Regions from separate parts of the Homo sapiens genome. Here regions 2, 3, 4 and 5 are each linked to region 1. Evidence: promoter capture Hi-C in human tissues and cell types (Jung and others, 2019). All regions are on one chromosome and are shown on one strand. Each heading gives the region's core, a stretch centred on a gene start or on the middle of the fragment in contact. The rest is flanking DNA. Distances are from core to core; before and after follow the strand shown. Region 1 holds the start of CNP (2'',3''-cyclic nucleotide 3'' phosphodiesterase). Region 2 has its middle 6.2 kb from the start of GAST. Region 3 holds the start of JUP (junction plakoglobin). Region 4 overlaps P3H4 (prolyl 3-hydroxylase family member 4 (inactive)). Region 5 holds the start of NT5C3B (5'-nucleotidase, cytosolic IIIB).

The links. The method cuts DNA at HindIII sites, captures the fragments that hold promoters and counts their contacts. A contact is called where the count stands out against the background at its distance.
Region 2: a fragment that was not itself captured here is called in contact with the fragment with the promoter of CNP in region 1 in 2 of the 25 tissues and cell types used here (lymphoblastoid cells and mesenchymal stem cells).
Region 3: the fragment with the promoter of JUP here is called in contact with the fragment with the promoter of CNP in region 1 in 1 of the 25 tissues and cell types used here (liver).
Region 4: a contact is called between a fragment that was not itself captured here and the fragment with the promoter of CNP in region 1, in 4 of the 25 tissues and cell types used here (H1 embryonic stem cells, dorsolateral prefrontal cortex, heart left ventricle and 1 more).
Region 5: a contact is called between the fragment with the promoter of NT5C3B here and the fragment with the promoter of CNP in region 1, in 1 of the 25 tissues and cell types used here (adrenal gland).

Annotation. Positions count from the first base shown.
Region 1 is chr17:41,964,164-41,969,089 of GRCh38, reverse strand. CNP (2'',3''-cyclic nucleotide 3'' phosphodiesterase) reads right to left here and starts at 2,295. Exons shown (of 4, transcript NM_033133.5): 1 at 2,203-2,295; 2 at 350-1,022. The coding sequence starts at 2,205. It overlaps ODAD4 (outer dynein arm docking complex subunit 4), which reads right to left. Exons shown (of 12, transcript NM_031421.5): 12 at 2,587-4,097. The coding sequence ends at 3,607. RefSeq lists enhancers at 148-705, 706-1,263, 1,264-1,821, 2,923-3,022 and silencers at 1,793-1,982, 2,113-2,552. The HindIII fragment of the contact is 7,030 bases long and covers 1-4,926 here.
Region 2 is chr17:41,716,086-41,721,011 of GRCh38, reverse strand. It overlaps a transcript of HAP1 not described here and the pseudogene RNA5SP442. Among named protein-coding and RNA genes, the nearest start is that of GAST, 6.2 kb to the right of the region's middle. RefSeq lists a silencer at 3,261-3,555. The HindIII fragment of the contact is 4,495 bases long and covers 825-4,926 here.
Region 3 is chr17:41,784,462-41,789,387 of GRCh38, reverse strand. It overlaps JUP (junction plakoglobin), which reads left to right and starts at 2,677. Exons shown (of 14, transcript NM_002230.4): 1 at 2,677-2,800. RefSeq lists silencers at 2,709-3,008, 3,173-3,385. The HindIII fragment of the contact is 40,774 bases long and covers 1-4,926 here.
Region 4 is chr17:41,803,458-41,808,383 of GRCh38, reverse strand. P3H4 (prolyl 3-hydroxylase family member 4 (inactive)) reads left to right here. Exons shown (of 8, transcript NM_006455.3): 5 at 380-525; 6 at 1,505-1,588. Among named protein-coding and RNA genes, the nearest start is that of P3H4, 6.0 kb to the left of the region's middle. The HindIII fragment of the contact is 7,644 bases long and covers 1-4,926 here.
Region 5 is chr17:41,834,982-41,839,907 of GRCh38, reverse strand. It overlaps NT5C3B (5'-nucleotidase, cytosolic IIIB), which reads left to right and starts at 3,676. Exons shown (of 9, transcript NM_052935.5): 1 at 3,676-3,726; 2 at 3,951-4,049; 3 at 4,636-4,705; 4 at 4,792-4,838. The coding sequence starts at 3,715. It overlaps KLHL10 (kelch like family member 10), which reads right to left and starts at 2,083. Exons shown (of 5, transcript NM_152467.5): 1 at 1,782-2,083. The coding sequence starts at 1,975. RefSeq lists an enhancer at 3,073-3,152 and silencers at 3,573-3,952, 4,083-4,192. The HindIII fragment of the contact is 24,571 bases long and covers 1-4,926 here.

The sequences.
Region 1 (4,926 bases), core at 1,046-3,545:
TTAGAAGAGGACATGTTTCCTGTTACTACAGTAATTTGTTTTTCCCACCTCCAAGACAAGGGACAGTGGTCTACATTCAGGCTGGGAAAAGGGTGTCGGAGAGAAGAGGGCTAGAAGGATAGGTGTGGTGGGAGGAAAGGCGCTCTGGGAAGCCCCCGTGTTCCCAATGTGCTGCCAACTCCCCAAGGCTACCACTGGGACGCACCGCTTGCCCCTGCCCCCGCTGAGGTGAGCCTCTCTCTGCCTCCTGCTGCTTCGTGCTCCATCCTTTGAGTACAATGATGGTCCTTTGCCCGCAGCACCCTGTGCCCAGCAAGGTGGGCTTATAAGGCCCCAACCTGCCACCTACATTGTCGCAGCTCCTTCTTGAAGGCCTTGTGGTTCCCCAGCTCTTCCAGGAAGACCTGGCCGGCTTTGCGGAGGGTCTCAGAGCTCTTCTTGGTCAGGAACCAGCCGAAGTAGAGCGGCAGGAAGTCCTTCTCCAGCCCAGGCTTCAGCTTCTTCAGGTCATCAGCCGACAGCTGCCACTGGTTCTTCTCCTTGAGCTGGGCACAGTCCAGCCGCCACGCCGTCTTGGGCTCCACCAGCACCACCTGGTACTGGTACTGGTCGGCCATTTCAAAGAGCTGCTCCAGCCGTTCCCGTTCGTGGTTGGTGTCATCAAGCACAAGAATTCTGATGTCCCGGCGGCGGCAGTAGGCAGCCAGGTCCTCATCGAGCCGCTTGTACTCCTCGGAGAAGGCTCCTCGAGCGCCGGGGGTGATCTTGTAAGCGTCAGCCGACACCATCTTGGTGCCATCACGGTACTTGTCCACGATGACCCGTGCCAGCGTGGACTTGCCGCTTCCTGGCAGGCCGCGCAAGATGAAGAGCGTCTTGCACTCTAGCAGCGTGGCCACTGTGTCCTCATCCTGAAGGAAGGGAAACTGCAGCTCAGGCTTGTCCTTGGCCCCTGAGGATGACATCTTGCGGAAGAAGATCTTGGGCAGGAATGTGTGGCTTTTTCGGGAGAAGCCTCTGTTCTGTGTAAGGAGGGGAAGAGATGTCAGCCCAGGTCATTCGCGGGCTCCCCGCCGGCCTTACCCCTAGTCCCTAGACTGGTTGTGGGTGCCTTCCCAAGCGGGGCAGTGCTGGACCTTCTTTCCCTTTCGGTCCGGGAGCACCTTTCCGCTTCTGGTCGTGGAGGAGGAAGAGGGAAGCTTGTCTGAAGCTCTCCTAAGCGTGCGCTTTCCCCATTCCTGCCACTTCGGAAAGGTAAACGTGCTGGAGGCATGCGGGGCGCGCCAGGAGCCTGCGGTTCTGGGACTGGCCTCACTCTTATATGCTTGGCACCTACTAAGGACGTCCTCTTTGGAGGTGGGGGTCTCTGTGTCTGGGCCAAGCCACAGCTGCCACGGCTGAGTGCACAGAGAAGGGGGGGAGTGGAGAAGGGTTACCCCAAGACTGCCTCCCTTCCCCCAACAATGGCCGCAACAGATAATACTCTCTTGTCTGGCATGCGGGTACAATGGTCCCACAGAAGGGCTGGTGGGGGGCAGGGCAGGAGAGCACTGGACAAAGGCCCTCTTTCACCAAGCCTGCCACCTCCTCCTCTACCCTCTCCCGGCCCCCACAAAGTCGTGGTCTTTGTGCCTGTCCAGAACAGGGCAGCACAGGGCACCTGCAATTAGGATCCAGCTCTACCCGCCGCTGTGCTGTGTGTCAGAAGCGCCTCTCGGAGCCACTTGTTTTCCTATCTTCTAGAAGCCACAAGGGACGGCAGCTTTTACCGTAAAGGGTCCCCTCCTCTGAACTGGCTCCACCTCCCGCCCGCACCCGGGCGCGGGGCAGCGGTTCCGCGTGATGAGACTGGGCCCGGGGAGGGGGCGCCGAAGCGGCTGCCCCAGCGCGGGCCTGCGTGGGGTCGGGAGCAGCTCCCGGGCTCCCGGCCCAGGCCCACCCAGGCTCCCAGAGGCGCAGCAGCTTCTGCGGTCCCGAGTTCCCTCCTGAGAAACACCACCGTTTCCCTTTACAGCGGCCTCTCCGGCACCCCAAAACCCCTCCGCTTCTCCCAGACCTCAGGGCCGCCCTGAGTACCAAGAAAACTGGAAGTCGAACCCGGAGCCCCGGGTCCTCGTTTGCAAGACGCTTCCTCCCGAGGGGCCCCGACACTCGTTTCCCGCCCTGGTGCTACCCCGTGCCCGGCCCCGCCCGGCCTCTCACCATGATGAGGAGGGGCGCCACCGTCGCCGCCTCTGCCGGCACCAGCGCTCCGGGGCCGCCCGCCTGCGCGGAGGGACACGGGAGTCCAGCGGTGGCACGACCCGAGCCCGGCCGCTTTACATAGCCCGGGGGGCGGAGCGGGCACCCGGGCGGGCTGGGGGCGGGCCGTCTCCTCTGCGCGCAGGCGCTGCGAACCAAAACCCGAAACTCTCGCCGCGCGCGGGAACCTCGGCCCGGTCCCGCCCCCTGCGCGCGCCTGCTCCCCACGCGCACCCACCCACTGCGCCTGCGAGCTGAGCGGCCACTAGCTTTTTCTGCGTGTTGAGGGGTAACTCAGTCACCCTCCCCGGTCCCGTGGATTAGCAGGAAGTGAGTGAGGCAGGGTCGTGCAAAGTCGGATCCTGTCTTTAATTTTTGATATTTTATTCATCATGGACTTTTGCATTAATTAAAAACTTTTTTTTTTACCACATTGGATTAAAATATTATCATGCAATTTGCTGGCATTCCGGTAAACTCTGCATCTGAAATGCCTCACTGGCCTCATTCGTCCAGGCCCTGTGCCAGCCGAAAGTCAGTCTCAGCCCCGACCTTTCCTTCTAGGAGCTGTGGAGACAGACCAGGATGGCAATGGCCAAAGGGACAGATGAGTAACGGAGTGAAATCCTAACATCCTCTGAGGCCAGATCCTCAGCTGCCACCTCCTCTGTGAAACCACTGAGAGCTCCGTTGGATTTTTGAGTTTCCTGTCCAAGTGCTGTGCTAAGCACTCAGTCCTCGCAGCAACCCCTGAGGCAGGTATCCCATTGTTCAGAGGAGAAGCCAGCTTGGAGAGCCTGATTTACCTGATTATGCCACCCAGAGGTGTCAGAGGCGGAGTCTGTCTGCCCTCCCGACTCCCAGGCCACTCCCCTATCTTTGGCCTCACTCCCAGCATTCGCTTGGTTCTGGCTTGCGGCATTCTCCTACCTGTGACAGCTGGGGCCGCCCCACCACTGTTCCATCCATAAAGCCTCCCCGCTGTCCTGCGCACTGGAGGGACTCAGTCAGTCACCGGTGTGTGGGAAGCACCTCTCCTCCCAGGCCTTCCCCTCTCCTCCCTGTGACTTCTTGTTCCCTGTAGCGCCCGTATCTTCACCCTCCTGAAACCCTTTCTTCTTGGCACCTTTCTCATTTCTTCCACGATGCTCTTCCAAGAATGGGCAGGGGTGAAGAGGCAAAGTGACAGACTCAGGGTTTGCAAGAGTGAAAGACACCTATTTAATGGCAAAATAGTGATGGAAAGCAGCAGAAGTAAAACCCTCATTTTTCCTATAACAGACAAATCGCTTGAAAATCCAGTTTAATAAAATCCCATGATCCCTCTGAACACCAGCTTCCTGATCCTCATCTCTACCGATGGCTTCATTCATATTCCTTTTCCATCTCATTTCCTGTTTTTTTCGTTTCTCCTATTTCTCCAAATTGTGTTTTTCCCAGTTCTTCTGGCTCTCTTCTGCCCACTTCTGAAAGTTTCTTTAGTTCTTCTGGTTCCTGTCTGCTGAATTCTCCTGAGAGTCTTTGCTCTAATTCTCCCGAAGGCCTCCTATAAATTTCTCTTGACTCTCTTCTGCCAGCTTCTAGTAGCTTCCTGCCTGTTTCTCCTGATCTTGTGCCTAATTCTCCTGACAGGCCCTTGGCAACTGCTCCCAAATCGCTTCTGGCTTTTCCTGCTTCCACACTCTGCTTTCCGCTTGCTGGGCTCTGCAGAGCTTCCCCAAAAGCCTCATCGTCCTCATCTGTCTCTTTCTCATCCTCACTATGGTCCCACTGCTTCACCACCTTCTCGGGCTCATCTCTCACTCTCCTCATGTCCTTCTCTCTTGTTATTATTCTATCTTCATACAGTGAAGCTTCTGAAAAATAAGAGAAAAGCGGGAAGAAAGATAAAAGTTTGTTCATGTCAGGCCGGGTGCGGTGGCTCACGCCTGTAATCTCAGCACTTTGGGAGGCTGAGGCAGGCAGATCCCTTGAGGCCAGGAGTTCCAGACCAGCCTGGGCGACACAGTGAGACCCTGTCTGTACTAAAAATACAAAAATTAGCCAGGCGTGGTGGTTGGCGCCTGTAGTCCCAGCTACCCGGAGGCTGAGGCAGAAGAATCGCTTGAGCCCAGGAGGTTGGGGCTGTGATGAGCCAAAATCCAGCCACTGCACTGCAGCCTGGGTGACAGAGCAAGACCCGTCTCCAAAAAAGAAAGAAGAAAAAAAAGAAAGAAACTGTTCATCTCTGTGGAGGCCTGTGCTTTTGAGAGGCCGATGAGAGAAAGGCCCTGAGAATGACTGTTTTTGCCAGCTCTTTAAATTGGTGTTGACAGCACACCTTTCCAAAAGCAGAGAAAGGGAACCATCATTGACTGAGCCCAGCTCCGTCCTGTGCATCACGTGAGGGCTGTATAGCTTATCCCATCCAGACATCATGAAAATGCGCACTGCCGTTGATTTGAGTTTGCAGTCAAGGGACCTGAGATCGATAGAAAAGAAATCACACGGCCGGGCGGCATGGCTCACGCCTGTAATCCCAGCACTTTGGGAGGCCGAGGCAGGTGGATCACCTGAGGTCAGGAGTTTGAGACCAGCCTGGCCAACAAGGTGAAACCCCGTCTCTACTAAAAATACAAAAATAAGCTGGGCATGGTGGCAGGCGCCTGTAATCCCAGCTACTTGGGAGGCTGAGGCAGGAGAATC
Region 2 (4,926 bases), core at 1,823-4,322, 250 kb after region 1:
GCCTGACCAATGGAGAAACCCCGTCTCCACTAAAGATACAAAATTAACTGGGCATGGTGGCACACATGCCTGTAATCCCAGCTACTCGGGAGGCTGAGACAGGAGAATCGCTTGAATCCAGGAGGTGGAGGTTGCGGTGAGCTGAGATTGCACCATTACACCCCAGCCTGGGCAATAAGAGTGAAACTCCGTCTCAAGGAAAAAAAAAAAAAAGAATATATCTCAGAGTTATCCCACCCCTTGGGTGGGGGAGCTGGGGTATTTATCCTCTAACTGTCATCTGACACTGTCTGAGAGATGCTTCTGGAGGCATTTAACTGCCCTGCACTTGGCCCTGAAGGAAATTAGAATGTGTTACCTCCAAATATGCCACTTTGGCATAAGGACTATTTTGAGCTGAAGGCAATTGAGAAGAAGCAGATACAAGAAAAGCTCCCTACCCTCCTATTTGCATAAAAACAGGACATACATTTTCAACTGTGTCCATCTACCAGGAAGGATAAAAGTTAAATCTCTGGGCTGGGCACGGTGGCTCATGCCTGTAATCCTAACACTTTGGGAGGCCGAGGTGGGTGGATCACCTGAGGTCAGGAGTTCAAGACCAGCCTGAGCAACATGGAGAAACCCTGTCTCTACTGAAAATACAAAATTAGCCAGGTGTGGTGGCACATGCCTGTAATCCCAGCTACTTGGGAGGCTGAGGCAAAAGAATTGCTTGCACCTGGGAGGCGGAGGTTGCAGTGAGCCGAGATTGCCCCATTGCACTCCAGCCTGGGCAACAACAGCGAAACTCTGTGTCAAAAATAAATAAATAAATAAATAAAGCTGGGCGCGGTGGCTCATGCCTGTAATCCCAGCACTTTGGGAGGCCAAGGTGGGTGGATCATGAGGTCAGGAGATCGAGACCATCCTGGCTAACACGGTGAAACCCCGCCTCTACTAAAAATACAAAAAATTAGCCAGGCGTGGTGGTGGGCGCCTGTAATCCCAGCTACTTGGGACGCTGAGGCAGGAGAATGGCATGAACCCGGGAGGCAGAGCTTGTAGTGAGCCAAGATCGTGCCACTGCACTCCAGCCTGGGCAACAGAGTGAGACTCTGTCTCAAAAAAAAAAAAAAAAAGTTAAATATCTGGAGACAACTTTATTTTTTATTATTTTTTTGGTTTCCATAATTTGGACTTATTTTATTGATACTCATTAGTGAATAAAATGTTGATTTTTGATGCATTACAATACACTTTTTGGTAGTGGTTGCACAATGTTGATCATTTATTTGTTTACTAAATACTGCAATCTCCAAATTGCCTTTTTTTTTTTTGAGACAGAGTCTCGCCCTGTCTCCCAGGCTGGAGTGCAATGGCGTGATCTCAGCTCACTGCAACCTCTGCCTCCTGGGCTCAAGCAATTCTCCTGTCTCAGCCTCCTGAGTAGCTGGGATTACAGATGCATAACACCATGCCCAGCTAATTTTTGTATTTTTAGTAGAGACAGTGTTTCACCGTATTGGTCAGGCTGGTCTCGAACTCCTGACCTCAGGTGATCCGCCTGCCTTGGCTTCCCAAAGTGCTGGGATGACAGACGTGAGCCACTGCGGCTGGCCAAATTGCCAATTTTTACATGGTATTTCTGGCAATGATGGTGGCTCGTCTCTCTGAATACATAAAATGGTCCATTCAATCCATGGTTTTCATATTCCTTTGTTATTCTATCTACTGCTTTAAAATACATTCAGGCTGAGTGCAGCGGCTCACACCTAGAGAATCCCAGCACTTTGGGAGGCTGAGGCGGGTGGATCACGGGGTCAGGAGTTCAGGACCAGCCTAGACAACATGGTGAAACCCCACCTCTACTAAAAAGTACAAAAATTAGCCTGGCATGGTGGTGCCTGCCTATAATCCCAGCTACTTGAGAGGCTGAGGCAGGAGAATCGCTTGAACCTGGGAGGTGGAGGTTGCAGTGAGCTGAGATGGCACTACTGCAATCCAGCCTGGGTGACAGAGCAAGACTCTGTCTCAAAAAAATAAAATACATTCAAATAAAAAAATATAAGTTACTTGCAACAAGTGCACACTTAGAACAGCGAGGAGAGCTGAGAACATAATTAACCAGTACTCTTGTGTTCAGAGCATAAATAGTCTGAAACCGTGGGACTGAAGCTTGCTCCTCATAGACTTTCTCCAAGTATCCTTGGTGGACGTAAGGTTACCCTCACTCAACGGAAGGACACATCTGCTGCTGTGGTGGGAGGACACAGAATGACAATTTCATTTACGTAGGACGTTTTCCTTCCATAATGTCTGGAACAAGTCGGAGACAACTTTAGACCCCTTTCAGCCTGGAGTGGCACCAGTGCAATCTAATAACAAACTTGACTCACTAGCCTTTATCTACCATTCGTTTTCCATATAGCTGCTTTCCCATGCACAGTTAGCCACCCTTGGAAGTCTAACCTAGGCTGGAGCTTGGGGGCCTGGACCTCAGCCCTCTTCTGGGACAGGCGGTAGGAACCCCAGCCCTTGTTCTGCAGCTGGCACAAGAGCTGTGACTGCCGGATGTGGGTCACATGGCAGCCCAGGGGGGCAGGAGAAGCCGGGGGAGGCCCACTGGCTACCAGACCCAGCCCTGAGAGGGGACAGGGCTCAGCTCCCACGGGCAGAAAGCTGTTTCCCACACACAGTTAGCCACCCTTGGAAGTCTAAAAATTGCTGTCCTTTATCTTGCCTACAAATGTATTGTTCTTTGTTGAAGATGCTCTGTGAGCCTGAATTCTCCCATCTGAGTACTAACCAGGCCCCACCGTGCTTAGTTTCCAAGATCAGACAAGATCGGGCGCGTTCAGGGTGGTATGGCCGTAGACAGTGTGAGCCTGAATTCTAAGCTACCTCTCTGAGTTACTCAACTCTGGGTACTCTGTGTGTTAAATGTGTGATACACATGTTAATAAACTTGTTTGCTTTTCTCTTGTAATCTGTCTTTTATAACAGAGCCCCAGCCGAGGACCTAAGATGGGTAGAGAAAACACTTTCCCTCCTCTACAGCCCTCAGGTGGCGGGTAGCTCAAGGTAATGGTGTCAACAGGCACAAGAACAATGATGGAATGGAGTGAGACACCAGCAATGCCTGCACCAGCCACTCATGAGCAATTATTTACAAATATTTATTGGGTTCCTCCTATTCTTGCCACCGGGGATACAGAAGGGAGGAGGGACTTGTCACGCTCCCAGTTTCCTGTTTTGCCCGAGAGGCAGACAATAAACTGGCAAACAAAACAACTACAGATTGTGAAATGTGTTCTAAAGAAAATATTCTGCTATTGTGAGACAAAGCAACAAACATTAAGAAGCTGTGTTTGCTCCTTTCTGCTTGTCGGCACAGTTTCACAAAGCACCTGACTCTGTGACTAGAGACAGACGTGCAGCCCTCCGGAAAGATGCTTTGAAGACAGCACAGGAGAGAGCCTGAGGCCCTCCCATGTCTCTTGGCTGAGTCACTACTTTTCTTTTCTTCTTCTTTTTTTTTTTTCTTTGAAAGAGAGTCTTGTTCTGTTGCCCAGGCTGGAGTGTCATGGCGCAATCTTGGCTCACTGCAACCTCTGCCTCCCGGGTTCAAGCAATTCTCCTGCCTCAGCCTCCCGAGTAGCCAGGACTACAGGCACATGCCTGGCTAAATTTTGTATTTTTAGTAGAGACGGGGTTTCACCTTGTTGGCCAGGCTGGTCTCGAGCACCTGACCTAAAGTGATCCACCCTCCTCGGCCTCCCAAAGTGCTGGGATTACAGATGTGAGCCACTGCGCCCGGCTTGAGTCTTCACGTTTCTTAAAAGAGAAATAATCCTAGTCCCTGGCTTTTCTGACACAGAACATTTCCAAGATGACATCTGACGAGGTTAGTGATGATGCCTCTGTGATCTAGGACCCAAATCTTGCTGTGATTCTGCTGTCATGTAATTCTGAGCAAGTCTGATGGGATTTTGCACATACGGAACCTCCACCTTTAGCCCCCAGATGTATATAAGCAATGGGCTGAAACATTGTGCCAGAGCCTGCTCCTGGGCTGGAGGCCTCAATCTATAGTCCTCTGTAAGACTTCTGAATACAACTAGCATTCATTCTTTAAAAAGCTTAATTTTTTCTCTTTTATTTGACCCTGTGGTAGAGAATAACTGGGTCTATGTGTGAAGGGTGAGGAGCAGAAAGGGTAGGTCTCTCAGGAAGAGGCATTTCACCCAAGAGCTAAGGAGGAAAGGGGAGCCCACCATATTTGTGCCTGGGGAAGAGCGTTGCAGGCACAGGGAATGGCAAGGTCGGAGGCTCTGAGCAAGAGAGAACATGGCGTGTCTGTGTAAGGGAAAGGACCGAGAGGACAAAGAGAAGGAAGCCACTTGGCGCACAGTGGGAGGAGAACCTCAGGGCTAGCTTTCAGGGCTGTGGCAGGGAGTTCAGGTTGTATTCTAAGTGCACTGGGAAACATTGCAACGTTAAAACCGAGTGTGACACGGTTTATCTTTTAAAAAGCTTACTCTGAGGCTGGGCACGGTGGCTCATGCCTGTAATCCCAGCACTTTGGGAGGCCGAGGCGGGTGGATCACCTGAGGTCAGGAGTTCAAGACCAGCCTGGCCAACATGGTGAAACCCCGTCCCCACTAAAAATACAAAAAAATTAGCCAGGTGTGGTGGCGGGCACCTGTAATCCCAGCTACTTGGGAGGCTGAGGCAGGAAAATCGCTTGAACCTAGGAGGCAGAGGTTGCAGTGAGCTGAGGTCTCATTATTGCACTCCAGCCTGGGAGACAAGAGCGAAACTCCATCTCAAAAATAAAATAAAATAAAAATTAAAAAAAAAGGTTACTCTGGCTATGAACCCTACCATATATTATCCTGCCCATACCTGTGGATTCTCGTTCAATGTGGGGCTCTGGGGGACCCA
Region 3 (4,926 bases), core at 1,428-3,927, 180 kb after region 1:
CCCACATGGGCTCCTCCACCCCTCTCTGCAGTCAACCAGCCCTACCCTGCCTCTTTGCTGAGGTCAGGAGAAATAGGAAGGAGTCAGGCCAGGCTTGGAGCTGGGACGTATGTGTGTGTGCATGTGTGGAGGTGGGAGGTGGGCAGAAGGGGGAAGAAATGAAACCCTGGCAGCTGCAGCAGTCCAGGATTGTGAGCCCATTCCTTCCCCAGCTGTGGCCTGGCTACAGCTCTATGTGACAGGGTGACAAGCAGGTGGATGGGGCAGGGGTAAGGCAGGGATAAAGATAGGGAGGTAAGCTGGAGGATGGAGAGTTGAGGAAACAGGCAAAGGGCGGTGGCCCTGGTTATGGGATGGCCACTAGTTCAGGGATGTCCGTATCTCCCTGGCCCTGCTTTTGGATGGCGCAACTTCAGAAGGGAGAATGTTCAGCTACCATTCTTTTCTCTGGTGGGGAAAGTGGTCAAGGTTGCTGCTAAGGTACCTTCATCCAGCCCATCCTGTGTGCTAGCTTTGGGGCTGTAGAGCTTTGTTGATGGGGGACCCTTTTCTAAACCACCACTCCTCCAAAACCCACCCACACACGCTGCTTCTGCTTATCCTTCTATGAGCTCTTTGAAGGTTGGGATCATTTTTATTTCCTGTGTCACCAGGTTTTATTTTCTGTGTTCACCAGTGCCTAACATACAGTTGACAATGAATACTCAAGTGTTGAATGAAGGAATGTTTGTAGGGCCCTTGGCACACCATACAGCCACGAGCAGCATTCATGTCATCAACCACAGAAAGGAAGTGCCCTTGTCTTCTTAAGCTGCCTGTGAGAAGTCCTTTTTATTTTTTTGAGACAGAGTCTCACTCTGTCACCCAGGCTGGAGTGCAATGGCATGATCTCAGCTCACTGCAACCTCTGCCTCCCGGGTTCACGCCATTCTCCTGCCTCAGCCTCCCGAGTAGCTGGCATTACAGGTGCCCGCTGCCATGCCTGGCTAATTTCTGTATTTTCAGTAGAGATGGGGTTTCACCATGTCGGCCAGGCTGGTCTCGAACTCCTGACCTCAAGTGATCTGCCCACCTTGGCCTCCCAAATTGCTGGGATTACAGGCATGAGCCACCACGCCTGGCCGAGAAGTTCTCTCTGATCTCTACCCCAGGCTCTCCTATCGCAGAGGGGTGTGCTGCCCGGTTTATTTTTTTCTTTTCTTTTTTTTTTTTTTGTTTGAGATGGAGTCTCGCTCTGTCATGCCCAGGCTGGAGTGCAGTGACATGGTCTCGGCTCACTGCAACCTCCGCCTCCCAGGTTCAAGCAATTCTCCTGCCTCAGTCTCCCAGGCAGCTGGGATTATAGTTGCCCGCCACCACGCTCGGCTAACTTTTTGTATTTTTTGTAGAGATGGGGCTTCACCATATTGGCCAGGCTGGTGTTGAACTCCCGACCTCAGGTGATCCACCCGCCTTTGCCTCCCAAAATGCTGAGATTACAGGAGTGAGCCACTGCGCCTGGCCTGCCCCGTTTCTTTCATGCCAGGGCTGGATTTCCTTCAGATCTGCTGCTTGATGTTTCCAAGCCCACCAAAGCCTCCTGACACCAATACTGTATTTTTGTGCCAATTAATTGTTCTGTCTCTCCTCCAAGTGTTTGTGCCTTTTCTCTGCCCCTTCCCCATTGCCTTGACATTTTATGTCTATGCTCCTCTTCCATGAGGGGAACAGCTGGTTTGATGGTCCTTCAAATGAGAGGAAGGAGGTTCTAGCTTGGGGTGTGCCACTTTGTAGTTTTGTGACTTCTCTGAACTTCGGTTTCTTCATCTTTACAATGAGGGTCGTTTTCTCATCCTAACTATTTTTCAGAGCTGTCACAATAATTAAAAAAAAACATACCGTTAATTTAAATTTCTAACCTTTAGCAGTTTCTGAGTGCTTTCACAAACCTGACCTCATTTAATCCCCACATACTCCAGTGAGGTAGATATGGCTAATGTATCCAGTTTACAGAAGAGGAGAAACAGGGTGAAGTAACTTGCCTAAAATCATACCAAGTGGGAGAAGACCAAACCTGGCCTTCTAATTCTAAATCCCAGGAGTACTCCATCTTTCGGGAAAAAAATCCCACCCCAGCACAAAGCCTATGAAATGCTATACAAATATGTGATTACTACTTTGGGGCAAGGATGAATAAGCCCAAAGAAGCATCATGCCTGACGCTGAGTTGGCTGGCCGGTGAAGGCGTCTGTCCCTTCCCTTGGTATCCCTATGACTTACCTGTTGGACAGGTAGGGGGAAGGGGAGAGTAATGAGTCTCACCTGCTCAGAGCAAGGGTGGGGCAAGACACACCCCATCCCTTCCATTGGTTTTTTCCTTAGTCTTACTGACAGAGCCTTGTCCAATCAGGAGGAAGTAACTTTCTATCTGCCAATAGATGCAATGTTAGGATGAGACCTCAAGTTAGAGTCCATCCCTAGAGCCGACTGGCAGTCCCCGGGGCCAATGGCAAGCGGATAAACAGAGGCGGCCGTGGAAGAGGACTGGAGGCGAGGCTCCGCCCCTCCACGGGACAGTCAGGCGAGATAGCCAGTGAGCTCGCACCAGAGGGTGGGCGTCTCCCCCAGGGGCGGAGCTTCGAGGTGGCGAGGGGCGTGGCTTGGCTGTCAGGTCTCTTCGCCTTTTGTTCGGTTACTGAGTTGCTGCCTTGGCCAGAGTCCGGAGCAGCCGCCGCCCGACCACGCCGAGCTCAGTTCGCTGTCCGCGCCGGCTCCCACCCCGGCCCGACCCCGACCCGGCCCGGTCAGGCCCCATACTCAGGTGCGGGCTATCGGGGGCGCAGGTATCGTTGGGGACAGAGGGGTGGCGAGCGGCCGCGGGGCCGGTCCCAGCCGTCCCTGGGCAGGTGAGGGCCGGTGCCATCGAGCGCCACCCTGCACCGGCGGCAGGGGGCGCGCTGGGGTCCTGGGCGCGGCGACTTGGGGGTCGCGCGGTTCGGGCCGAGCGCGCCTCGGAGCTCCGCGAACCAGAGATCTGAGCAAGGCGGGGAGGGATCCGGACAGGTGCCTCCGGGGTCGCGCCTCCCCCGGGGCCCGCGCAGCTCGCCCGACGCCGCGTCCCTGACTCTCGCCCTGGGCTGGCGGGGGAGACTTTGCTCTGCTTCGACTGCGTCCCAGGGCTCACGCTGCAGTCAGGAATTTACCGTTTGGGGAACTTGCTGCCGCTGGTCTCTTTGGGGCCACCCTCACCCCACCCCACGCGTCATCCTCGCTTTCCCTCCCTCCCTACTCCCCCAGGCCTGGGTGGGGCCCTATTGTTTGCGCCCAGCTTGCCCAACTGTGGGGGCCGAGCGCACATTTTCCCAGCGACTCTGGCCCCACCTGCCGAGCAGGTGAGCGCACGGAGTCCAGAGGCCCTGCCCTCCAGCTCCCAGAGCCTCGTCGATACTACCTGCGGCGCCTCCCTCCACGCCGGTGGGAGCCCGGCTCTGGCTTCTTCAGCGGAGGTGGGATGGAGTGACTGGGGGGTGCAGGGCTCGGCTCAGTGTCCAGCTGGTGTCTGGCACCCGTGGCTCGCCCTGGGGTCTGGGGGGTGGGGTCTGTGCACGGATGAAGAATTCAGGGTCACCTGGCCCAGTTTCCAGTAGCTGTGGCTGCCAGAGTGTTGGTAGGGGAACAGGACCCGTCTTCTCTAACCTCTTATTGTTGGAAAAAATCACCCAAAACAAACTTTGCAGGAGGAAGTATTCACAGCAGCTTTATCTGGGGGTTTTCCCGTCTCCTTGCCCAAAACTTCCTTTAGGCTTAGGGGGTCCTTCCTGGTGCAAAACCCCTTCCCCCAGCCGGCCCCTGGCTGAACCTGGGCCGGTGCCTGGGCTCCGACCCTGTCTTCCCTGCCCCCACATTCATCCTGTTCGCTGGGCCCCAGGGGCCTGAGGTAGGGGCCGGGGTGGGGGGTGGAAAGTGCTGAGAGGGGAAGCAGCTTCTTCCTTCTCTTCCTGCCTCCTGGGACCACCACACCCCCTCAGACAAGGCCTGCGTAAGTGGTTGTCTCTCAAGCTCTGCCCCCTCCCCAGGAATGGGGGTGGGGCAGGGCTGGGCCAAACTGAGGAAGGTGGGGGGAGTGGTTGTTCTTGTCTTTTTTTTTTTGCCTCTACCCCATCCCCCACATTACTTAGCTGGCTGGTTATTGAGGCAGAAGCGCATGAGGCTGTGGGACTTGCCTTCCATTTGATTTCTGAATTGTGAAGGTGCATGCTTTCTGGAGGCCTGCACAGACCTTTCCCACCCGCTTTCCTGAAAGAATTTGACAGGGAAAGTGAGACCGCAGGAAGGCTTTTTGGGGGAAGGTTTCTTCAATGCTAGACTCTCTCAGGCAGAGCTGCATCGGGCCCCCTGCCTTCCCTGCTCCCAATTTCCTGAGACCGCCCCCCCCCACCCAGAATTGGGGATCTTGATCAGGGTTTGTACCCCGGTTTAAAAAAAAAATCTGAAATGTGGTCTTTTTGCAGGATTTGGAGCCCAGCCTCGTTGGGGAACAGAGAGAGAATACAACAGTTGGGTTCTCTCTCAGTCCTGGGGGTGGGAGAAAGATTGTGGGGGGCGGGGATCGAGAGTGCTTGGAGGGGAAGAGTCTACCACCTCTTTCTTTGTTGTAGATGGGGGAGTGAGGCTGGGGGCCCAGACTCAGCCCCTTTATCCTGGGTGGGGATCACGCTCAGCCCTGTGCTAGGGGGAAGTCAGTGTGGGAACTCAGATCCTTTTCTGCCGGGGGATGGGATTCTGCACCTCTGGGGAGCAACAGGAGCAGGGAGTTTGGGCAAAAATAACCTGCTTTCCCTCTTCTCTGTGCCAAGGTGGAGGAGGGGAGGGCATTGTAATTATGTTGGCTACATGATTAGTTTAGCTAATCTGGTTTGTGGCTGTGATGAAAAGATAATACTGAGG
Region 4 (4,926 bases), core at 1,489-3,988, 160 kb after region 1:
AAATTAGATGGGTGTGGTGGTGCCTGCTTGTAATCCCAGCTACTCAGGAGGCTGAGGTGAGAGGATCACCTAAGCCTGGGAGATCAAGCTTGAGGTGACCATAATTGCACCACTGCACTCTAGCCAGGGTGATAGAGTGAGACCCTGTTTCAAAAACAATAAAAAGACAATAACAGTGAGGCTTAGATGAGTTAGTCAGGGCCTGGCATAGGGTAAGTGCCCACTACATGCTAGCTGGCATTATGCTTGGGTGGGATAAGGAGCCCATTAGGTATTCTGGGAGGTGGCTGGGTAGCAGGGGTGCTGGACTGAACTGGAAGATGGAGTTGACTCTGAAGGGGAAGTGCCAGAGCAATTCCTCACCCCTGTCCTGCTGCAGTGAATGATGTGCGCCAGGCTGCCCGCAGCGCCGCCAGCTACATGCTCTTCGACCCCAAGGACAGCGTCATGCAGCAGAACCTGGTGTATTACCGGTTCCACCGGGCTCGCTGGGGCCTGGAAGAGGAGGACTTCCAGCCCCGGGAGGTGGGCACTGCTTTCTGGGGCACTTGCTGGATATGCACTTTGTAAAAAATGAACTCCTGGCGGCCGGGCGCGGTGGCTCATGCCTGTAATCCCAGCACTTTGGGAGGCTGAGGCGGGTGGATCACGAGGTCAGGAGATCAGGACCATCCTGGCTAACACGGTGAAACCCCGTCTCTACTGAAAAGAAAAAAAAATTAGCCAGGCATGGTGGTGGACGCCTGTAGTACCAACTACTCGGGAAGCTGAGGCAGGAGAATGGCGTGAACCTGGGAGGCAGAGCTTGCAGTGAGCGGAGATCGCGCCACTGCACTCCAGTCTGGGTGACAGAGCGAGACTCCGTCTCAAAAGAAAAATAAATAAATAAATAATAAAAAATAAACTCCTGGCTTCCATGGAAGGCAGGATGGGAAATGGAAAGAAAGAATATGAGTTGAGGTTAGAGTCCTGGCTTCAGAGCCCAGCCCCACTGCTGTGTGGTCCTGGGAAGACCATGGCCCTTTCCTAATCTATTGCCTCACCTGCAAAATGGCAGTGATACTGCCACCTCACCAGCAGTGTCCAGACGAGGGAGGTATGAAGGTACACATCCACTCCTACCTGCTCCCCTCCCTACCTTCATTACCCTCACTGCTGACCTTTGTCCCTCTTTCCCAGGAACACCCTAGGTAACCAATGGAGGAAATCTGTTGGAGTTGAGGGCCAGGCTGGCAAATATGGGGCACATGGTGCCACTCCTGCCTTCCTTGTCAGTGGCAGACATTGCTAATCGATTGAGGGACTCTTTGTCACCAAACTCTCAGAATCCTTAACCCAGTGTTCCAAGCAGCCACGATGATCTGATGAGCTTGTGAGCTGATACCTATTCTCTGATCCTTGAGCTAGAAGAGGGCCAGTGGGCCCAGATCCTAGGAGCCCTGGCTTCTTGCCATCTGGCAACAGGGTATGGCTCACCCCCCACCCCGTCCTTCCCTCCTTCCAGGAGGCCATGCTCTACCACAACCAGACCGCCGAGCTGCGGGAGCTGCTGGAGTTCACCCACATGTACCTGCAGTCAGATGATGAGGTGAGTGCCTCCTGCTTTCCAGGATTGGGCTGTGATGGGGACACCTTGGACCTTTTCCTGGGGCCACCAGTGTGCCAGAATTCAGCCCCAGCCCCTGGTGGTCAGCTGTCGTGAAGAAGAGAGGTTTGCCTGTTCCTTGTCTAGACTGTCCGTTCCTTCCCCAGCCTTAGTATTCTCATGTCCTCCTTTTGTACATGTCTCAATCCTGTTCCTCCCAGGCCCAGCTCACATGGTGCCTCCTCCAGGAAGCCCTTGCTGCATGCCCTGGCTCTTTGTTCTGGGCTAGCAGTGCCCACTCTGACCTGTGTGCCTCCCTGGCCACCTGTGGCCTGGACCTGGGTGATTGCAGCCCTCGTCCATCTCAGCCCTGGGCCCCTTCTCCAGCCAGTATCCAGGAGAACCGCACTGCAGGACACAGGGCCACATTATTCCCTGTTCTCCCACATCCTGCACAGAGCCTGGGCTCAGAAACTGAGTTTGAATGAACCAGTGAATGAATGAATGCAGGACCTCAGGACAGAAGGACCGTATTGTATTACATTGATTTATTTTATTTATTTATTTATTTTTTTTTTTTGAGATGGAGTCTCGCTCTGCCGCCCAGGCTGGAGTGCAGTGGTGTCATCTCAGCTCACTGAAACCTCTGCCTCCCGGGTTCACACGATGCTCCTGCCTCAGCCTCCGGAGTAGCTGGGATTACAGGCGTGCACCACCACGCCTGGCTAATTTTTGTATTTTTAGTAGAGACAGTGTTTCACCGTGTTGGTCAGGCTGGTCTCGACCTCGTGACCTCATGATCTATCTGCCTCGGTCTCCCAAAGTGCTGGGATTACAGGCGTGAGCAGCCGCACCCGGCCCTATTAACATTGATTTCAAGTGAGGGTTTGACAGCCTTAATTTCTCTGAGGTGTTGCTGCTCAGTGCTCATTTATGTATCCTCTCCTTTGTTCATGCCCCCACGCCCCCACCCATCCAACCCCAGAGGAGGAGGGCAGAATCTACACCGTCAGCACCCAGGATGAGGAACTAGCCAGACCTGGCTCCATTACTTACCAGTTGGGTGGCCTCCAAACAAGTGTCAGGCAACCTCTCAAGCTTCTGTTTCTTCATCCATTGAATGGGGAGAATCATGCCCATCTCACATTGTTGTGGTGAGAATAACACAAGATCTGGCCGGGTATGGTAGCTCATGCCTGTAATCCCAGCAATTTGGGAGGCCGAGGCAGAGGGATCACCTGAGATCAGGAGTTCAAGACGAGCCTGGCCAACATAGTGAAACCCTGTCTCTATTAAAAATACAAAAATTACTCAGGTGTGGTGGTGGGCACCTGTAATCCCAGCTACTGGGGAGGCTGAGGCAGGAGAATGGCTTGAACCAGAGGCAGAGGTTGCAGTGAGCCGAGATCGCGCCACTGTACTCCAGCCTGGGTGACAGATTGAGACTCTGTCTCGAAAAAAGAGAAAGAATTAAGTGAGATCAAGTATGTTTTTTTGTTTGTTTGTTTTTGAGACAGAGTCTCGCTCTGTCGCCCATGCTGGAGTGCAGTGGCGTGATCTCAGCTCACTGCAAGCTCCGCCTCCCAGGTTCTCACGCCATTCTCCTACCTCAGCCTCCCAAGTAGCTGGGACCACAGGCGCCTGCCACCACGCCCGGCTAATTTTTTTTGTATATTTAGTAGAGATGGGGTTTCACTATGTTACCCCGTATGGTCTCGATCTCCTGACCTTGTGATCCACCCACCTCGGCCTCCCAGAGTGCTGGGATTACAGGTGTGAGCCACCACACCCGGCCTCAAGTATGCATTTTTCTTTTTTTTTTCTTGGAGACAGAATCTCACTCTGTCACCCAGGCTGGAGTGCAGTGGTGCGATCTCTGCTCACTGCAACCTCCACCTCTTGGGTTGAAGAGATCCTCCTGTCTCAGCCTCCGAGTAGCTGGGATTACAGTCATGCGCCACCATGTCCAGCCAATTTTATTTTGTATTTGTAGTAGAGACAGGGTTTCACCACGTTGGCCAGGCTGGTCTCAAACTCCTGACCTCAAGTGGTCCGCTTGCCTCGGCCTCCCAAAGTGCTAGGTTTACAGGCGTGAGCCACCGCTCCTGGCTGAGATCAAGTATGTAAAGCACTTGATAAAGAGCCAGTACCTGGTAGGTGCACAGTGAATGACAGCCGAGTCTCACTCTGTCATCCAGGCTGGAGTGCAGTGGTGCAGTCTCAGCTCATTGCAACTTCCGCCTCCCAGGTTCAAGCGATTCTCCTGCCTCAGCCTCCTGAGTAGCTGGGATTACAGGCGTGTGCCACCATACCCAGCTAATTTTTGTATTTTTAGTAGAGACATGGGGTTTCACCATGTTGACCAGGCTGGTCTTGAACTCCTGACCTCAAATGATCCACCGACCTCAGCCTCCCAAAGTGCTGGGATTACAGGTGTGAGCCACCACGCCTGGCGTATGGCAGCCATTTTGACGGCTGTCTCTTATTTCCTGTGGTTTGCCAGACACCAGACTAGGGGCTGGAGTAAGTTAGTGAAAGTCATGGTCCTGGCGGGGCACGGTGGCTCACACCTGTAATCCCAGCACTTTGGGAGGCCAAGGCGGGCGGATCACGAGGTCAGAAGATTGAGACCATCCTGGCTAACACGGTGAAACCCGGTCTCTACTAAAAATGCAAAAAATTAGCCAGGAGTGGCGGCATGCGCCTATATTCCCAGCTGCTGGGGAGGCTGAGGCAGGAGAATGGCGTGAACCCAGGAGGCAGAGCTTGCAGTGAGCCGAGATCATGCCACTGCACTCCAGCCTGGGCAACAGAGCAGACTCCGTCTCAAAAAAAAAAAAAAAAAAGGAAGTCATGGTCCCTTTCACGTGCCGCTCACAGTCTAGTGGGGGAAGCACAAACTGCTGCTGGAGAGGGCAGCACACGGCACCAGGGGAGGTCTCCAGCCCAGCCAGAGTCACCAGCAAGGGCTCAGCCTGGAACTGATGCCTGGCTTTGGAGGGATTAGTGCGGGCTACGCAGGCACAGGGGACAGCAGTAGTTCCTGGCAGGGAAACAGTATGAGCAAATATTATGCATGGACTAGCAATATTCTTGCCAGGGTCTTTATGCTTAAAAGGTGGGGCTGTGCAGGGGCGATGTTTATGCTGACACCAAATTCTGCTGGTGGTGCCCTATGCAGCCACTCAGGGAGGGGCAGTTTGGGAAAAATCCTCAGGACTGTCTCATTAGATCTTGAGACTGGGGAGGGGGAGGGGCTTTGGGGACCGAGAGATGGGATGGGAAGTCCCATTGGCCAGGAAGGGAGCCCATATGGGTTTGGGCGTACTGTGACCCGGTTT
Region 5 (4,926 bases), core at 2,427-4,926, 130 kb after region 1:
AACTCCATTTCAAAAAAAAAAAGAAAAATTAGCCAGATGTGGTGGCACACAGCTGTAATCCCAGATATTCGGGAGGCTGAGGCAGGAGAATCGCTTGAACCTGAGAGGTGGAGGTTGCAGTGAGCTGAGATTGTGCCACTGCACTCCAGCCTGGGTGACAGAGCAAGACTCCATCTCAAAAAAATAAAAATAAAAAATAAATTGTGGACTCTGCTCTGTGGTCTACCTGAATGAGAAGTTTTAGCAACAGGTAGGACACATTGATCATATCTTCATTGGAATTGATTACTCAAACATTTTCAGCTCATGAACAAAATAGCCCTTCTACCTCCTGGGTTACAATGGTTTTAGCCCAAACTCCCTTTTTCTTCTGATATTTCCTGGGTATTTCCCCCTCATCTCCCTTCCCATCCCCTTAATCCTTGTTAATTTATCACCCTGTTTGAAATGGTCTCTATTGGGATAGGGGTACAGGGGGGTCCCTGAAGTGGCATTGTCATCTGAAATCCAGTAGGGATGTCCAACCTTCCCAAAGGTTGGTTTGGGTGAGAATCAAAGATTAAAGCACCTGGCCCACCAATAGTTGGTTGAAATCCAGTTGAAAAATCAGACCTTAAAGGCTGGGTGCAGTGGCTCATGCCTGTAATCCCAGCACTTTGGGAGACCAAGGTGGGTGGATCACGAAGTCAGGTGTTCGAGACCAGACTGACCAACATGGTGAAACCCCGTCTCTACTAAAAACACAAAAATTAGCTGGGCATGGTGGCGGGAGCCTGTAATTCCAGCTACTCGGGAGGCTGAGACAGAAGAATCGCTTGAGCCTGGGAGGCAGCGGTTGCAGTGAGCCGAGATCACGCCACTGCATTCCAGCCTGGGGGACAAAGCGAGACTCCATCTTAAAAAAAGAAAAATTGTATCTTGCCAGGCGCGGTGGCTAATGCCTGTAATCCTAGCACTTTGGGAGGTCAAGACGGGCAGATCACCTGAGGTCAGGAGTTTGAGACCAGCCTGAGCGACATGGCAAAACCCTGTCTCTACTAAAAATACAAAAATTAGCCGGGCGTGGTGTCAGGCGCCTGTAATCCCAGCTACTTGAGAGGCTGAGGTGGGAGAATGGATTGAACTGGGGAGGCGGAGTTTGCAGTGAGCCGAGATGGCGCCATTGCACTCCAGCCTGGGTAACAGAATGAGACTCATCTCAAAAAAAAAAGACAAAAATCAGATCTCTCAAGAGCAAAAGGAAAAAAAAAAACAAAACAAACAAAAAAAAAAAAGAGAGAAAAAAGGCCCTGACCCTAGTCATGCCTCTTCAGAAGGCAAAGGAGCCAGGCAGGAGCTCCTGCCTGGACCAGAGTTGGCCAGGCACAGTGGTAATCCCAGCACTTTGGGAGACTGAGGCAGGAGGATCGCTTTGGGCCAGGAGTTCAAGACCAGCCTGGGCAACATAGCGAGACTCCCTCTCTACAGAACATTTCAAAAGTAGCCGGACGTAGCAGCATGTGCCTGTAGACCTAGCTACTTGGGAGGCTGGAGTAGGTGGATTGTTTGAGCCCAGCAGTTGAAGGCTGCAGTGAGCTATGATTGCATCACTACACTCCAGCCTGGGTGAAAGAATGAGAGCTTATCTCTAAAAAAAAAATTTTTTTTTAATTTTTAAGGAGCCCAGAGCTTTGACAGTGTCCCTAAAGTTAAGGTGATGGGGTGGGAAACAGAAAATGGATCAAAGTGTCTCAAAATGAGCCCAATTACCCCTTTGGCTGAATTTGGCAACCCTGTTATACCTAAAGTAGGAACTGCAGCTACAGAGGATGTTCTTATGGGCACTGAACTCAAAGCCATTGACCTTGATGACCACGTCGCAGAGCTTGCCCTCTAGTCTAAGCTCGTTGAAGATCTCACAGGCCATCGCACTCATCTTCCTCTCCATGTGAGGCTGGTGGAAACGTGTGGAGGCCGCCGCGCTCTCCATCTCCATGGCACCCTGGGACAGCGGAGAGAGGCTGCTTTCCTAGGGTGTCGGGGAGGGTTGTGGGGGGCCCCTTTAGCCAGCTGTCGCTCCTTTTCCCTACTACATCTTTTGTATAGGGTCTATCAGGCAACCCAAGTTCCAGAATCCTGGCCCTGCAGTGAGATCACACAGGATTGTGCTCTCAGGTTCTGGAACTGCCTCCTGGACTTGTCCTCTTCCTTCTCCCCTCCTTACCACCCCACTTAGGCTGAAAACCACCTCACACCTCCTTCTGTGTCCTTGAACCCAAAACAGAACCATGACCACTAGCACCATCTGAGTGTTTATTGATTCCAGCTCCTGTTACTCACCTGATACAGGTCTCTATCCCTGGAGCATTCATCTACCTTCCACAGCCCAACACTTGGCTCCCTAGACACCGAACTCAAGGAAATCCAAGTCAATTGAGGCTGAAGGGAGAAGTAAAACTGATTAAATTTCTTTCTTAGGCCGGGCGCAGTGGCTCACACCTGTAATCCCAGCACGAGGTGGATGGATCACAAGGTCAAGAGATCAAGGCCATCCTGGCCAACATGGTGAAACCTCGTCTCTACTAAAAATACAAAAATTAGCTGGGCGTGGTGGCACATGCCTGTAGTCCCAGCTACTTGGGAGGCTGAGGCAGGAGAATCGCTTCAACCCAGGAGATGGAGGTTGTAGTGAGCCGAGATCGCTCCACTGCACTCCAGCCTGGCGACAGAGTGAGACTCCATCTCAAAAAAAAAATCTTTCTTTTTCTAGGGACGGGTCTCGCTCTCTCACCCAGGCTGGAGTGCAGTGGTGTGATCATAACTCACTACAGCCTCGACCTCCTGGGCTTAAGTGATCCTCCCACCTCAGCCTCCTGAATAGCTGGGATTACAAGTGCTCCGCACCGTGCCCAGCCAACGCTGATTACATTTCAGAAAGCTGTCCCGGGTCTCCCAGCCCGCTGGATGGGTTAGTCACTCAGTTTCTTCTGGAATGAGGAATGGCCTAGTTAACAGAGCCCTTTCTGGGTGATTAACAGAATTCAGTTTATGGCTCCTTCATCTCTCCTCCCATCCAGCCGTGTGGTTTTTCTGTTTTTGTTTCTGAGACAGGGTGTCATCTGTCACCCAGGGTGGAGTGCAGTGGTATGATCTCGGCCTACTGGAGCCTGGATCTCCCGGGCTCAAGTGATCCTCGTGCCTCAGCCTCCCGAGTAGCTGGGACTACAACAGGTGCGTGTCACCATGCCCGGCTAATTTTTGTATTTTTTGTAGAGACAGGGTTTCGTCATATTGCCCAGGCTGGTCTCGAACTCTTCGGCTCAAGCGATCATCCTGCCTCGGCCTCCCAAAGTCCTGGGATTACAGGTATGGGCCACCGCGCCCAGCCCCAGTCATGTTTTTGTCACAAACTTTCAGCCTGGAAATGACCACGTTTGGCAAGGCTTTTCCTCCACAAAGAGTGGCAGAACCCTACCTACCCACGTAACCCCAACACCTTGGGACCTTCACCCTGCTCTTCATAATAAATAGAACCCTCCTCCAGTTTGCCTAGCGCAACCGGCAAGCCCACCCGGATCGCGGCCATCTCCGGGACCGCTCGATTCTCGGCCCCACCCCCGCCCCGCCCCCGGCCCCACCAACCCCCGCCCGGGCTCCAGGCGGGAGGCGACGCCTGCGCAGTGCGGTCGCGGGGCTGTCGTTGTCCCGCGAGCCGCCGACCAGGCCTCGAACGGGATGGCAGAGGAGGTGAGGAGGGAGGAAGCGTCCGGAGTGGGGCGGGCCCGGACTCCGACCCCCGGGGCGCTTCGAGCCCCCCAGCTGGTCACCGAGGCACCGCCGCTTCACCCAGGCCAGTAGCCGCCCCCTCGCGCACCCCGGCCCCGCCTCACACGCGCGCCCGAGCGAGCCCCGGGCTCCCCTCGGGCCCAGCGTGGCGCAGGGGTCAGTGGTTCTCTCGGGTCTCGGGACAGGTGAGCACCCTGATGAAGGCCACGGTCCTGATGCGGCAGCCTGGGCGGGTGCAGGAGATCGTGGGCGCCCTCCGCAAGGGCGGCGGAGACCGGTTACAGGTACCTCTGGGGCGTGCGGGGGCCGGCCGGGCTGGGGGCGGCTGGAGAGGCTTCCTGCCCATTGGGCCTTCCCGCTTTGCTCTGCCGCGGACCCCTCCTAGCTCTCTGCCCCAAGAAATGGCCGGGAGCTTGAAGGAGAGCGGGTTGGTTCGCCTGTCCTAAAACCCAAATTTCAGATTTCTCAATATGGTCATGCTGCTTCCTCTAATTGGACAGAAGGCGCCCACACCAGTACCTAGGGCCTTATCCTCCCCAAGCCAGCGGCTCCCCAGTAAGTTGAAGATGTCCAGATGGGCCGTAATGGTAGAGATCTCTTAGGAGGGACCTGATATTGAAGGAGTCAGAGGGGTCCTGAGTATTCACCCTTGCCCCCACACTAGGAGACTGCGTTTTCCTCAGGGTTAACGGGTACTAATTAGGATCACTTCCCCTCTATCCCTCTGTGTCACTCGGTAACTCCCCTAGGGCTTTGCCTACATCCTGGCCACTGAGCTGTATTGATTTCCATAATCATCCCCCAGGCTGAGGCAGGGCCACACTAGAATTCTGGTGCCTATTTAGGCATCATCTCTCTTTTGCCTTATAGGTGATTTCTGATTTTGACATGACCTTGAGCAGGTTTGCATATAATGGAAAGCGATGCCCTTCTTCTTACAGTAAGTCACATTCTAGCTTCCCTTGTTGAGCTTGACAAGACGATGGGTTCTAAGGGACAAGTAAAAGGAGTTTTCTCTTTTTCCAGATATTCTGGATAATAGCAAGATCATCAGTGAGGAGTGTCGGAAAGAGGTGGGTTGCTCCCGTCCTTTGCTCAGAAATGGTTGTCATTTGCTACTTCAAATGGTTCCTGATTGGAACCAAAGATTCCAGTATAGAG